2 separate regions of the Homo sapiens genome follow, and region 2 is linked to region 1. Evidence: promoter capture Hi-C in 16 types of primary human blood cells and fetal thymus (Javierre and others, 2016). All regions are on one chromosome and are shown on one strand. Each heading gives the region's core, a stretch centred on a gene start or on the middle of the fragment in contact. The rest is flanking DNA. Distances are from core to core; before and after follow the strand shown.

Region 1 (6,761 bases), core at 1,114-3,613:
GAAACCTAAACTCTATGATTACATTGATACAATTAAAAGACAAACTCAGCTGACTGAAAGCGCACCACAGATTAATCAATATTATCAATGATTAAATGACACGTACTATTTCACACAGAAGCAAAATGTTCTATTAACATTTAATATTTTTCTTTTTCTTTTTTTCTTTCTTGAGACGGAGTCTTGCTCTGTCACCCAGGCTGGAGGGCAGTGGCATGATCTTGGCTCACTGCAACCTCTGCCTCCTGGGTTCAGGCGGTTCTCCTGCCTCAGCCTCCTGAGTAGCTGAGATTACAGACGTGTGCCACCATGCCTGTCTAATTTTTATATTTTTAGAAGAGACAGGGTTTCACCATATTGGTCAGGCTGGTGTCAAACTCCTGACGTTGTGATCTGCCTGCCTTGGCCTCCCAAAGTGCTGGGATTACAGGCATGAGCCACTGCGCCCAGCCTAATATTTAATATTTTTCTTATTTACAAAACTGATAAATGTTGACTGCTGGAAATTTTGGAAAACACAAAAAGCCTTCCTTTTCTTTAATTTCCACATAAGTTTATGACCGCTGTTAAATTTCACTGTTTTCTTCTAATGAAAAAGTTTCAATGTTGATGCCCACAATTAAAACATCAAAGTTTTCAACAATTTTCTTAATAAAAATTTTAGAGTGGCCTAGTTGTCACTGCTAAGATGTTGTTAGCTAGCAGAAAAGACCGCTCTTTCACTTTTCTAAGTGTATCACTAATTTTCTGAGTGGTAATAGAAAAATATATACTTCTATGAATGCATTCTTTCAACTAAATCAACCAATATTACAATGAAACATGAAGGGGTGGGAGAATTGAGAGAGGCAAATTTGATTGGCTTACCTCTGAAATTGTTGGTCCACCTTTCATCTTCATCAAAATGAGCATCCCCTCCAATACCTGGGCCTGGTTGAAAAGCATGAGCAAGATTTCCTCCAGGTCCATCAAAAGGAGAGTTGTCCCGATGATCTGAAAGAAACAATTCAACAAAGATTCCTTGTGGTTCTTATGTAAGCTAAGCCAGAAGGGCAAGCATTAGCTTTGTTAAGAGGCCAACAGACTTCCATCAACTGTGATGCAGTTTCCCTCTTCGAGCCCATAAAATCAACATTCATCTTAAACAATCAATTCCAGTTGCAAAGCTACGAGATCTAGGGGCAAGGTGAGGTTAAGGTGCTATAAGAAGAACTTACCTCCCCTGACAAAAGATATCATGATGTCTGCTTGACCCTCAGAGACCTTGGTGAATGTCAGAGGTGTGACATTACTCCAGAGTTGGAAGGCTTTCTCAATGGCATGGTCCACATCTGCTCTTGGCAAATCTGGCGTGTAATTTTCAATCCTTAGAATGAAACAAAATAGAGACACATTGGACATGACTTCTTACCACTGTCATGGGAAATAGCTCTCTCACTCTGGCCCTCAGTCTGCCTACCTGTAGGTCAGATGTGTTTGCTCCCAGCGAGGGTTCCCCTCAGTGAGGACAAACTGAGCCACATCAGGCACTCCACATCTGGGCTGCTTCATCACCTTCAGGGTTTCAGCATCTGGTTTCCCAGTCACTTTCAGCCCAAAGAATTCCTGCATTTGCTTCAATTTTTCAACCACTGGGCCACTATTTCTCCGCTTTTCAACTTGCCTCCCATCATTCTTCAGGTTGTAGTATTTTTCCAGGTATTTCTGACAAAAGAAAATTATCGAAACACTGCATGGGAAATCTTTCTCATTATTCTAAAAATTGATGGCATTAAGTTTTAGCCAAAACAGAGAACTGCTTTTAAACCTTGTGTTTAGATTTCGCAGTTGCTTTTATCCTTATTTTTGGTGAGAAATGAAATTTCAGAGTAGAAATGTCCCTACTATTAGTTATTGTGAAGTAAGAACTTCATAGTAGAGCAATTTTTGTAGAGCAAGATTTGCATACTGTTACAAGTCTACAATTTGTGGAGACAAGTTTGGATGTTGTTCCTTTAGTTCACTCTCACCTCCAACTGGAAAAAGAGAGCGTATGCATGGCTAGATACATTTTGGGTGGAGGGTGCTGTTTCTAGCAAAAAAAAAAAAAATCTCTTTATAAGAAACCTATCCTTAAAAAACTCTATTACATTACTGCAGAAAAATACAAACTAAAAATTTACATTATTGTCACATGCAATGCAGCATTTACCTGGACTAAGTCCACATCTTGCTCTTGTGTTTCTAGAGTCGCTGGGAAGCTGTGAGACACCACACCCCAGAACAGCAGCAGCAGCAGTGGAGGAAAGCTGTGCATACTGGCCTTTGTCTTCTTTCTCAGTGCAAGGTAAGTGATGGCTTCCCAGCCTCTTGCTGCTCCAATATCCCAGCTAGGAAGCTCCCTCTGTATATATAGAGTCCTTGCCCTTCCAGAAAGCCAGAGGCTGTCTGACTCATGCTTTATAACATCCTCTTGATTAGCTATGAATAGACTAGGCAATCATTAGAAATGGTGACTCCTAGCAGATTATTTGGAATCACTTGGTGTTGCAATGTCATGATTAACTTCAAACAAGATGTGTGCGAAGGAGACACACTCTGCCATGTAAACAGTGGTTTTCTCCAATTCATTTCTTTCCTATTTGAGAAAGGTTCTTGTTATATACACAGGTCAAAGAGTACTCCATGGTCTTTTTGAAAAAGACTGGTTCTGATGGTCATAAAGTGCTACAGGTTTCTCCACACACCTTGCTCCCAGGGCAGAGGGTGGAATTACTAACACTGCGCACCTGATGGCTGTTCGGCACCTGTACTGACTGAAGTTCAGCTCCCCCAGCACTCACTTTACGGTGGCTCTTCGGGGTTCTCTGAGGTTCCCTTCTGCCTTTGTTAAGCTGCCTGGTACCCTATTGCGATAGCACCATGGCTTCCCTTAATCTTTACTCAGAGCCAGGCATGGTGGCTCAAGCCTATAATCCCAGAATTTCAGGAGGCCGAGGCAGGGGAATCACTTGAGCCCAGGAGTTCAAGATCAGCCTGGGCAACATGGTGAGACCCCATCTCTGTAAAAAACAAACAAACAAACAAACATTTTTTAAAGTTAGCCAAGCATGGAGTCATGCACCTGTAGTCCTAGTCACTGAAGAGGCTGAGGTGGGAGGATCACTTGGGCCTGGGAGGTTGAGGCTGCATTGAGCTGTGATTGTGCCGCTGCACTCCAGCCTAGGCAACAGAGAGGGACCCTGTCTAAAATAAAATTTGAAAAAATTTACTCAGGCCTAGGATTTAAGAGCCTTACCTGAGAAGACCCCTCATCCACAGGCGGAGTATGAGATAACTCCCCACCCCTTGCCCATCATTATCATGGGACAAATAGGATCCTTCCCTGAAACTTGTCTGAATGTACCGGATGATGAAAAGGCTGGAAAGAGACTGAGCGTGACTCTGGGGTCTTATTTTTAATCATACTTGTTTCCCTTGATATGAGTCTATCTTCGCTCCTTGGTGCTAGGCAGCATTTATTTATTCTTTCATGTATGCATTCATTCATATATTTATGCATTCCTCCATTCAAAAGATCTTATTTAGCATCTCCTGCCCATTAAAATAAATACATGGCTCTGTAATGAAAGATGTGTATTCCTGTACTTATGTTCCACATTAAATTGTCTTGGGTACTGGTGACCGGTGTCACCAGTGCTATCTGTAGCATTCCTGGTAAGAAAAGTTGGTTTATCTCTGTAGCTCCCCTACTCATGCCCCACTCTCCTTCCTTGGAAGCATTTATTGAAAACATACAGTGGAGAAACACTGGCCTGTTTTATCACTTCAGCACCTTATGGTGTCTCCCACCTTTCCCACTGTATCAGGTTTGCTTTTCAACACTTTCCTCCCCTTATGGATTCCTGTTTTCTTTCTGCGTCAAGACTGATATCTTACTCATAAACAATACTTCAGTATATCTTGGATTGATTTGAGATAAGTCATATCCTTTCTAATTATTTAACTACAATTTCCTCATCTAAGTGGCATAACATGTGAGTTCAAGAGGGTAAGAAGAATGGGAAGACATTCTCACGAAAAGGAAATCCTCTTCTCAGAGGCATCAGAGGGAGGGTGCGGCAGAGACCAAAGAACACTTGCCACTGAAGTGACTCCAGCACAGACAAAGAAAATAGTGAAAGGGGCTCTTCATATTAGAGGGTGAACATAGACTATGTTTTAAAAGTCAAGGAGTGGCAGATATACTCGACTGTGAGGGAATCTAGTCACTGTGAAGACGTGACAAGCCTAGCTCCACTGAGGCCTGGGAAACAAGGGTGAGTTAATAGGTTAACTCAGGAAAGCAGCATGTGACCATCTGTGATTGGACAGGAAATTGCCTAAGACGTCACCCTGGAAGAGTCTCATACACTGTCCCATCTGGCAAGAGCCTGCACATCCTGCAATGTAGAAGTTTTCAAACTTTTATAAACCTCTGTATCCTTTACTTAAACAAAATCCCTTTTGGAAAGCAAATTTGAAAACCAGGTGAAAACAGAAGTTCTCTGATGGAAGTTGGAAATAGAGCCTTGGAGTCCCCCACAACCCGCCACATCATGCCTGCTTTTTCCTCCCTTCTCTAGCAAAGCTCCCTGCATCTGAGTCCAGAGCTCTCATGCTAAATGCTCATAGTGTTTCATTAAATGTCATAGTTGCTGACGTGGATTGGAAACTGGTTGCTTGAAACATCTTTTCGTTAATTTTTTTTCCTAAAATAAACGAAAAAAATTAAATTAAGTTTTGGTTAAGCAGCCAGCCTAGATTCACATGGCCCTGAATCTTGGAATTTCCAGTTAGGTATTCATGGAAGATCGTCTAATACAACATATGTAACTTTGCAGCTGGTGCTAGCATATGATTTATTTGAGAGTAAAAAAGAAAACAAAAATTTAGAACAGAAAGCTGGGGATTAAATCATACCAAATCCTAGCAATGCCTAAACTTAGCATAGTTTCCAAGAAGTTCAGAACATGTTAAAGTTGTATTTGCTCTTCACATCCATACTATTTGTTTCCTCTGGGAGCATCTTCTTCCCCCATAATTCTCTTTTAAATGTAATTTTCTGAAATTATTCCTTTACCCCTTATGACAAGCATAAGAGGGCTCTCGTGTGGCTGTGTCAGCTGACTCCGGACTATTTCCAGGCAGCCAGATTATTTCCGTGGTTTTCTTGGTTGCTTCATGCTGGCTGCTCTGTGAAAGGCCTCAAACATATTTGTATTTTTCCATATTAAACTTAGTCTTGAAATTTCAATCTTGCTTCATATTTTTTTATGCTGGGGAATTCAGCCGTTTTAATTTTGTAACTCCATTTGAGTGTCAGATATTTTTTCTATTTTTTTGTCCTGCAAGTCTTGAAATGGTCTTTAGCCAGAAACATTAAGTATTTAATGCTATTTTGTTGTGAGAGTTACACGTGGGAAAAATTTGCCCCACGGTCTGTATTCTTCCTACATATGGCCATGCAGTAGCTTTATGGATAACCATTGACCAGACACTTAACAGACACTTGGTACACACTGGTTCCGTCAGTCCTCATGGTTACCTTCTGGGTAGAAATGATTGATCAATTAACCCCAAGTCCCAGGGCACACAGCAGAGCGGTAGTCACTCGTTGAACACAGTTCTGTGCCACTGCAGTCCAGACATAACACATACATACTCTGGGGATAGAAATCTTGCTTCCCTAACAGAGAGAAAGTGTCTGGAGACACGAGGACTGTCACATTAACTCCCTCAAGTCCACAATAATGTCTCCATGCCACCACCCGGTCCCACAGGCCTGAAAGAATCCTCCCCTTCAAGCTGTCACTCAATCTCTCTTATTTCCCTTATCAAACTTGTTGAATTTATAGTTTATACTACCTCAACATAGTAGGTGTCTGCAAATGATTGTTACATGAGTTAATAAATGAATAGATCAATGAAGAAATAGATACTTAAATGACACTTAAATAAAGGGTCTATTTCTCATTAGGCTGAGTTGTTTATAAGAAGTCTTATGCCCATGACTTTTACTCTCCTAAGACTAAAGTTTTTAAAATTACCATGGGAAGAATTTGGATATATCAACTGACTGGACATTCAATTAACTAATTTATTTATTTAGAGACAAGGTCTCCCTCTGTCGCTTAGGCTGGAGTGTAGGGACCTCAAACTCTTGGGCTTAAGCAATCTTCCTGCCTCAGACTCCCAAGTAGCTAGAACTACAGATGTGCACCACCATGTCCCACTGATTTTTAAGATTTTTTGTAGAGATGAGGTCTCACTATGTTGGCCAGGCTAGTCTCAAACTCCTGGCCTCAAGCAGTTCTCTCACCTCGGCCTCCCAGAGTGTTGGGATTATAGGTGTGAGCCACCACACTCAGCCTTACTGGAGATTTTATATGAAGCATAGCACATTTATTTTTGGTGATTTGCATGCCATGCTACAAGCATTTAGTATCAGATTATTTTGAGCATTTTATTAATTTGTTTGTCAATAATATTTTCTTATCTGCATGGTTTATTAAACACTGTGGAAAATGCTTATAGTTAGCACATTTGTGAAACAGATTTTTGCAGCTATAGCTCCTTTTAAAGGAAATTCAAACCAAGAGACTTTCTGGGGATGAGTGCTACTCATACCATAGCTCAGTTCAGCCCTGTCAAAACCGTCCTTTCCCAGCTCTTACATCTGTGAATGTGAATTTGAGATGGATTTGAAATATGTGAGGAAGCTTCCTGTGAGATTTTGATCA
Region 2 (6,761 bases), core at 2,295-4,794, 240 kb after region 1:
AATATTTTTGCCTAATTTTTCAATTGCCTTAAAAATTTTTTTTTCAGGTTAATAGAGATACAATTTAGAATCGTTTCTCAGCCTTTTGGCTAAGATCAACTGTGAGATACAATTTAGAGAAAGTAAAACTTACCCTTTTCTATGAATTTTAACAAAAGCATACAGTCATGTAACCGTCACCATATTCATCACTAAATTCAGTAAAAATGTAGAATAGTTTCATCACCCCTCAGAAGTTCCCTCATGCTCCCTCCTTCCGCAACTCTTGCCCCCAAGTAACCACTGATGTTTTCTTTCTCTGTGGTTTTGCCTTGCCCAAAATGTCATATAAATGAAATCATACAGTATGTAGCCTTTGGAATCTGGCTTCATTCACTGAGAATAATGCACTTAAAATTTATTGATATATTAGTAGCTTTTTTTTCCTTTGAATGTATTGCTGAGCAGTGTTTTCTGTACTCAAATATCACATAGTTTCTTTATCTGTTCACTGGTTGATGCACATTTTCATCATTTCTAGTTTTGGGTGATTGTGAGTAAAAAAAAATAAGTATTCATAAATATTCACGTACAAGTTTTTGTGTAGACATGTTTTTATTTCTTGTGGTTACATCCCTAGAAGCAGGGTAAACATATATTGAACTTTATAAGAAACTGCCAAACTTTTCCAAAGTGACTGTACCATTTTCTATTGCTACCAACCATGTATAAGAGTTCCAGTTGCAGCCGGGCGCGGTGGCTCACGCCTGTAATCCCAGCGCTTTGGGAGGCCGAGGCGGGCGGATCACGAGGTCAGGAGATCGAGACCATCTTGGCTAACACGGTGAAACCCCGTCTTTACTAAAAATACAAAAAATTAGCCAGGCGTGGTGGTAGGCGCCTGTAGTCCCTGCTACCTGGGAGGCTGAGGCAGGAGAATGGCGTGAACCCGGGAGGCGGAGCTTGCAGTGAGCCGAGATTGCGCCACTGCACTCCAGCCTGGGCGGCAGAGCGAGACTCCGTCTCAAAAGAAAAAAAAAAAAAATGAGAGTTCCAGTTGCTTCACGTCCTTGCTCATACTTGATATTCTCAGGCTTGTTTTCTCTTTCTTGTTTTTTGTTTCTTTTTCATTTTAGTCATTCTACTAAGTATGTGATGTTATCTCACTCTGTGTTAAGTTGCATTTCTGTGTTAACTAATGATGTTGAGCATTTTTCCTTGTGTTTATTTGCCATTCTTATTTCTTCTTTGGTACAATAGTTCTTTAAATCTTTTGCCTGTTTTAAAAATGAAGTTGGCCTGGTACAGTGGCTCACACCTGTAATCCCAACACTTTGGGAGGCTGAGGCAGAAGGATAGCTTGAGGCCAGACATTCAAGATCAGGCTAGGTAACATGGGGCAAACCTATCTCTAAAAAATTAATTAATTAAAATAAAATAAATAAAAATGAAGTTGTTTTGTTATTATTGAGTTGTGAGTGTCTTTACATATTCTAGGTAGCAGTTCTTTATCAGATATGTGTTTTGCAAATATTTTTCCCAGTCTGTGTCTCATCTTTTCATTCTCCTAATAGTATCTTTCCAAAAAACATGTCTTTACCAAGAGTATCTTTTCAAAGAGGAAATTTTTTATTAGGTCAAATTTATCAGTTGTTTCTTTTATGATTCTGACTTTCCTGTGTCTTATCTAAGAAATATTTGCCTATTTAAAGGAGAAAATTTTTCTCCTATGTTTTCTTTTAGAAGTTTTATGGTTTTAGGTTTCACATTTAGGCCTATAATCCCACCTCAGTTAATTTTTTTTTTTTTTTTTTTTTGAGACAGAGTCTCTGTCGCCCAGGCTGGAGTGCAGTGGTGCAATCTTGGCTCACTGCAAGCTCCGCCTCCCAGGTTCACGCCATTCTCCTGCCTCAGCCTCCGGAGTAGCTGGGACTACAGGCGACCGCCACCACACTCAGCTAATTTTTTTGTATTTTTTTAGTAGAGACGAGGTTTCACCATGTTAGCCAGGATGGTCTCGATCTCCTGACCTCGTGATCCACCCGCCTCGGCCTCCCAAAGTGCTGGGATTACAGGCATGAGCCACTGCCCCCCGCCCCTTCTCAGTTAATTTTTGCCTATGGTGCAAGAAATGGGTCAGAGTGTGTGTGTGGGTGTGTGTGTGGGGGTGTGTGTGTGTGTGTGTGTATATATATATACACACAATTGAATATTCATATAAATATATGAATATGCAATATTCATATAAATATATTTGTAATGTTATGTATGTAAATTTTTAATATTCATATACATATGTTTATATGAATATTCTGTTGTTCCATCACCACTTGTTAAAACAAACTACTTTTTCTCCATTTAATTGCCTTCTCATCTTTGTAAAAAATACATTGGGTATAGGATAGGTGTGTAGATCTATTGCTGGACTCTCTATTTCTCCTTTTTTGTCTGTGGGTCTGTCCTTTTACCAATACCGTATTACCTTGATTATTCTCACTTTATAATAAGACAACATCAGGTAGTGAGAATACTTCAATCTGATTCTTTTTCAAAATTGTTTGGCTATTCAACTATTTTTGCTTTTTTCATATAGACTTTACAATCAGTTTATAAATTTCTACAAAAATATCATGCCAAGATTTTTTTGTGGAACTGAATTGCATCTGTAACCCAATCTGGGGAGAAAATTTATCTTAACAAAATTGTCTTCCCATCCATGAACACAGAATATCTCTTCATTTACATAGGTTTTTTTTTTTAAGTCTCTCGTTAGTGTTCTATGGTTTTCAGCACACATTTCTTAGATTTGTAGACAGGCATTTTATGTTTGTTTGTGCTGTTATGATACTCGGCTGGGCATGGTGGTTCATGCCTGTAATCCCAGCACTTTGGGAGGCTGAGGTGGGCGGGTCATTTGAGGACAAGAGTTTGAGACCAGCCTCGGCAACATGGTGAAACCCAATCTCTACTAAAAATACAGAAATTAGCCAGGCGTGGTGATGAGTGTTTGTAGTCCCAGCTACTCTGGAGGCTGAGGCATGAGAATCACCTGAGCCCAGGAGGTGGAGGTTGCAGTGAACCCAGATTGCACCACCGCACTCCAGCCTGGGTGACAGAGTGAGACTCTGTTTCAAGAAATAACAATAAGAAAATAAAAATAAATTAATTAATTTAAAAAATATAAATGATAGTTAATTTTTTTCTGTATTTATAGTATTTTTGCATTTAGGTATTTGTTGCAATGTCTGTATTTTATGTTTTAAATTACCCTTTGTCTGTCCTACCTGTCACCAATATTTGGCCTAACTTGCCATTTACCTTTTCATGTTGTTTATAGCCATATAGTTAAGTCTTTTTATTCATGCTTCTCCTTTTGTGTGAATTTATTATATTTTAAATTAATTACCTTTACCTATATTATTTTAATCTTAATGAAAACTATAATAACTATGAAAAGGACAGTGTTATTCATCTTTTAAAGCTTATTACACTGATATCAAAAGATTAACTTTTTAACATTCACAAATTAGTAGGTTACATTAATTTTCCAAGGTTAGAGGCATTGTTGAGTCTGAGATACTTTGATTGTTTTACAAATACCTTTCACAGATCCTGCACTCAAGGAGGAAAAACTGATAAATGAACTTAACAAAGCTTCAGAGGTATCTGAGGGGAAGTACAGAACTTCACATCTGTGGAGTGATCAGGTCACTGACTGATCACAGTGGTAGTAGTAGTAGTAGTAGACACAGTGGTACATCACCCATTAATTTAGTTACTGGTTGAGGTAGAACTCACAGGGCTGCAATTAAAGACTCTCTTAACATTATTTTTTGGATTTTATGATTCACACATTTTTTTTCTATTAATTGAAGACTCAGAGATTACATCTTGTCCTTTGAAAAACATCAGATGAAGTAAGCCAATTTTCTAAGTGTAAATTCATACATTTCTTAACTGGAAAAAGAAAAAGCAGCACCCCAAATATAAAAGGTATTATAATTTTGGATAAACTATTAGAAAGGCTGGCATGTGGAGCAAAACATGACATACTATTAATGGTACCCTTGGACTGACAGACTTATGGTAAAGTTTATGAATTCATATGAAGAAATGCAGCTACTAATTACTTTCAGATGAAGATACCATTAAGCCATTGAATTAGTCAGCTTGAGCTGCCATAACAAAAGCCACAGACTTTGTGTCTTAAAACAACAAAAATTTATTTTTTCACAGTCTGCAGGCTGGAAGTCTGAGATCAGGACGTTAGTTGGGTCCAGTTCTGAGGAGGACTCTCTTTCCAACTTGCAGATGGCCACATTGTCGCCTTGTCCTCACATGGTGGAGAGAGAACACTGGGTCTCTTCCTCTTCTTATTATAAGGACACCAATTCTATGAGATAAGAGTTCCAACCTTAGGTGTCATCTTCAATACAGCCACATGGGGGAGTCATTCAACATATGAATTTTTCAAGGACACACTTCCGTTCTTAACAGCCTTTAAGAGAATGACACATATTTTCCACTACAGAAGATATTACTAGTTAGCAAAATTTTACAGGAAATAGCTGAGGATTGTGTTTATGGTTTAAGCAAACAAGATGATGACATTTCCTTAAGCTAAACATAAATGCTGATCAATGGCCTCATTTAACTCTACTACCAGAAAACCAGCCTAAGACAAACCTGCCCTCTCTTGTGACAAAACCCAAACTACGACTCAAGAATTAAATGCTGATGGTAAATACAATAGAGTTTGGAATGACAACAGAATGTTCTCCTAAGCCTCCTGAGAAACACAGAAGACATAAAATATCACAAGTCATCATTATTCAGAAAGATCCCTACAGAGATCTCTGTTGCAATAAATTCTCTAGAAGGAAAAGGGTCTGCATTTGGGGATAACTGACCTACTCATTTGTCAATGGAATTTAAGTAAAATGTAATTTTATTGGTTGGAGAGATTTTGTGCTGCTTAGGTAGAGAGAAAATATGTTTCTTTCTGTGTTTTTTTTTAATAAAATAAAATCTTGGAGCTCAAAATTTTATTCAACATACTTATACTTTTATTCAACTTTGGTACAAAAACAGGAAGAAGTAAGGTAGGAAAGCAACTGAATAAGAACAGGAGAACTAAAGATAAAGAGGAGCCTATTCTCAATAATGCATCTGAATAAACTGTTTAACTTAAAAAGATTGATTGAGCAGGGAAAGGAGCAAAATGGGAAGCAAAGAAGGAGAAGATGATGATGGAAGAGAGATACTTGCACAAATGTACATCCCATGGGGAGGAACACATGGTAATTAGGAGGTCATGAAGCAAACGTTTAGAGAAAGTAATTACATAAAAAGTATAGGAATAATCCAGGAAAGAAATAGGTGTTAAATAAAAGTAAGTATGGATGATTTCACTAAAAACAAGTCATATTAGTGTATCTGCTTTTCTTCTATAATGGTTATTAAATCAGTAGATCAAGGGAATGCTTCCAGAGATTTAGGACAAATATGACAAAATCTTAGTAAATATCCTTATGAAAATAAAAAAGAAAATGTAAGTTGGATGTTGGCTAAATTATATGAGCCATGTATCTAGTTAAATAATCATGTTCAAAGCATATTAATTAATAGACATATGTCAGTTCATTCATTCATTCTTCAATTATAAACTCTTATTAAGCAGCAAATATTTGTCAGGCACTATGTTAAGCCTTAGAGATACTAAGAAGATCAAACTGTGGTCTCACAATCTATTAGGAAGAAGCAGGGCTGTCACCAATAACTGTGATAGGCTGTTCATTAACTATGACAATAATAATCTAGCTTAAAGAAAAATCTTTAGTGAGAAGAAAAGATACTTCCAAAGCCTTAATCTTATTCACCATTTTTACCAATAATGTGGCTAATGCCAGCAAGAACTTGCTTACTATTTTGCAGATGTCATAGAACTTGTGGAAATAGTTAGACATTGGTAGATCAAAATAAGAAGTCAAGAAAATCTCAATGGATGGGAATAATGGGCTAAAACCAGTAAGATGAATTAAATATAAATTAATGTGGTGATTTACATTGAGGTTAAAAGAACACAACCACGTGAATACAGTACTTGGAAGACGTAGCTTGACAGCAGCTAATATGAAAAAGACCTGACTCTCAGTCAAACACAAACTCGATATAGCTTAGCAGTGATATATAATGTCTAAAACCTTGAGGTTTCATGATCAAAACAGCAGATCCAGGCCAAGGACAGTTACGACACAAGTGTATTCTATGCTGGTAAGGATGATTCTGCGTCGTGGTCCAGTTCTGTGGGACGCTTCAAGGCAGTATTTGACATATTAGAGAGGATCTAGCAGGAGGCAATGAGGGGGAGTTTTTGTATGAAAACTTCTACTTTATATTTTTAAAACTTATAAGAAAAGAGGGCACTTTAGCCTAAAGAAAGAAGTTGTAATGAGTCGTGTCATTGTGTTTTTTAACACTGAGTAGAATTACTCTACGAAGTCCCAGAAGGTAAAATAGGAATAACTGACTTTTCTATTGGGATTTATTCTTTGCAAAGAGCTGTCTTATTAATTATATCATTTGGTTCTTATAATTACCTTGAGAGTTAGGCAATGCATACACTACCATTACCACCATTTTATAGGTTGGAAAACTAAAATTCAGAAAAGTTGAGGCTTACCCAAAGTGGAAAAGTTGAGGGCCCAAATCCCAATTTTTTGAGCCCAAACCTATGCTTGTCCCACAATGCCATGCCGTCTTTCCACTTGGAAGCAGATTTT

The links. Contacts are between HindIII fragments. The CHiCAGO score rates a contact against its expected background, and 5 or more counts as called.
Region 2: a contact is called between a fragment that was not itself captured here and the fragment with the promoter of MMP1 in region 1, in 3 of 17 cell types (endothelial precursors, M1 macrophages and M2 macrophages). The highest score is 9.6, in endothelial precursors.

The regions. Positions count from the first base shown.
Region 1 is chr11:102,795,797-102,802,557 of GRCh38, forward strand. MMP1 (matrix metallopeptidase 1) reads right to left here and starts at 2,364. Exons shown (of 10, transcript NM_002421.4): 1 at 2,192-2,364; 2 at 1,460-1,704; 3 at 1,218-1,366; 4 at 868-993. The coding sequence starts at 2,296. It also overlaps the pseudogene WTAPP1. The HindIII fragment of the contact is 10,818 bases long and covers 1-6,738 here.
Region 2 is chr11:103,031,724-103,038,484 of GRCh38, forward strand. No RefSeq gene overlaps it. Among named protein-coding and RNA genes, the nearest start is that of DCUN1D5, 57 kb to the right of the region's middle. The HindIII fragment of the contact is 173 bases long and covers 3,459-3,631 here.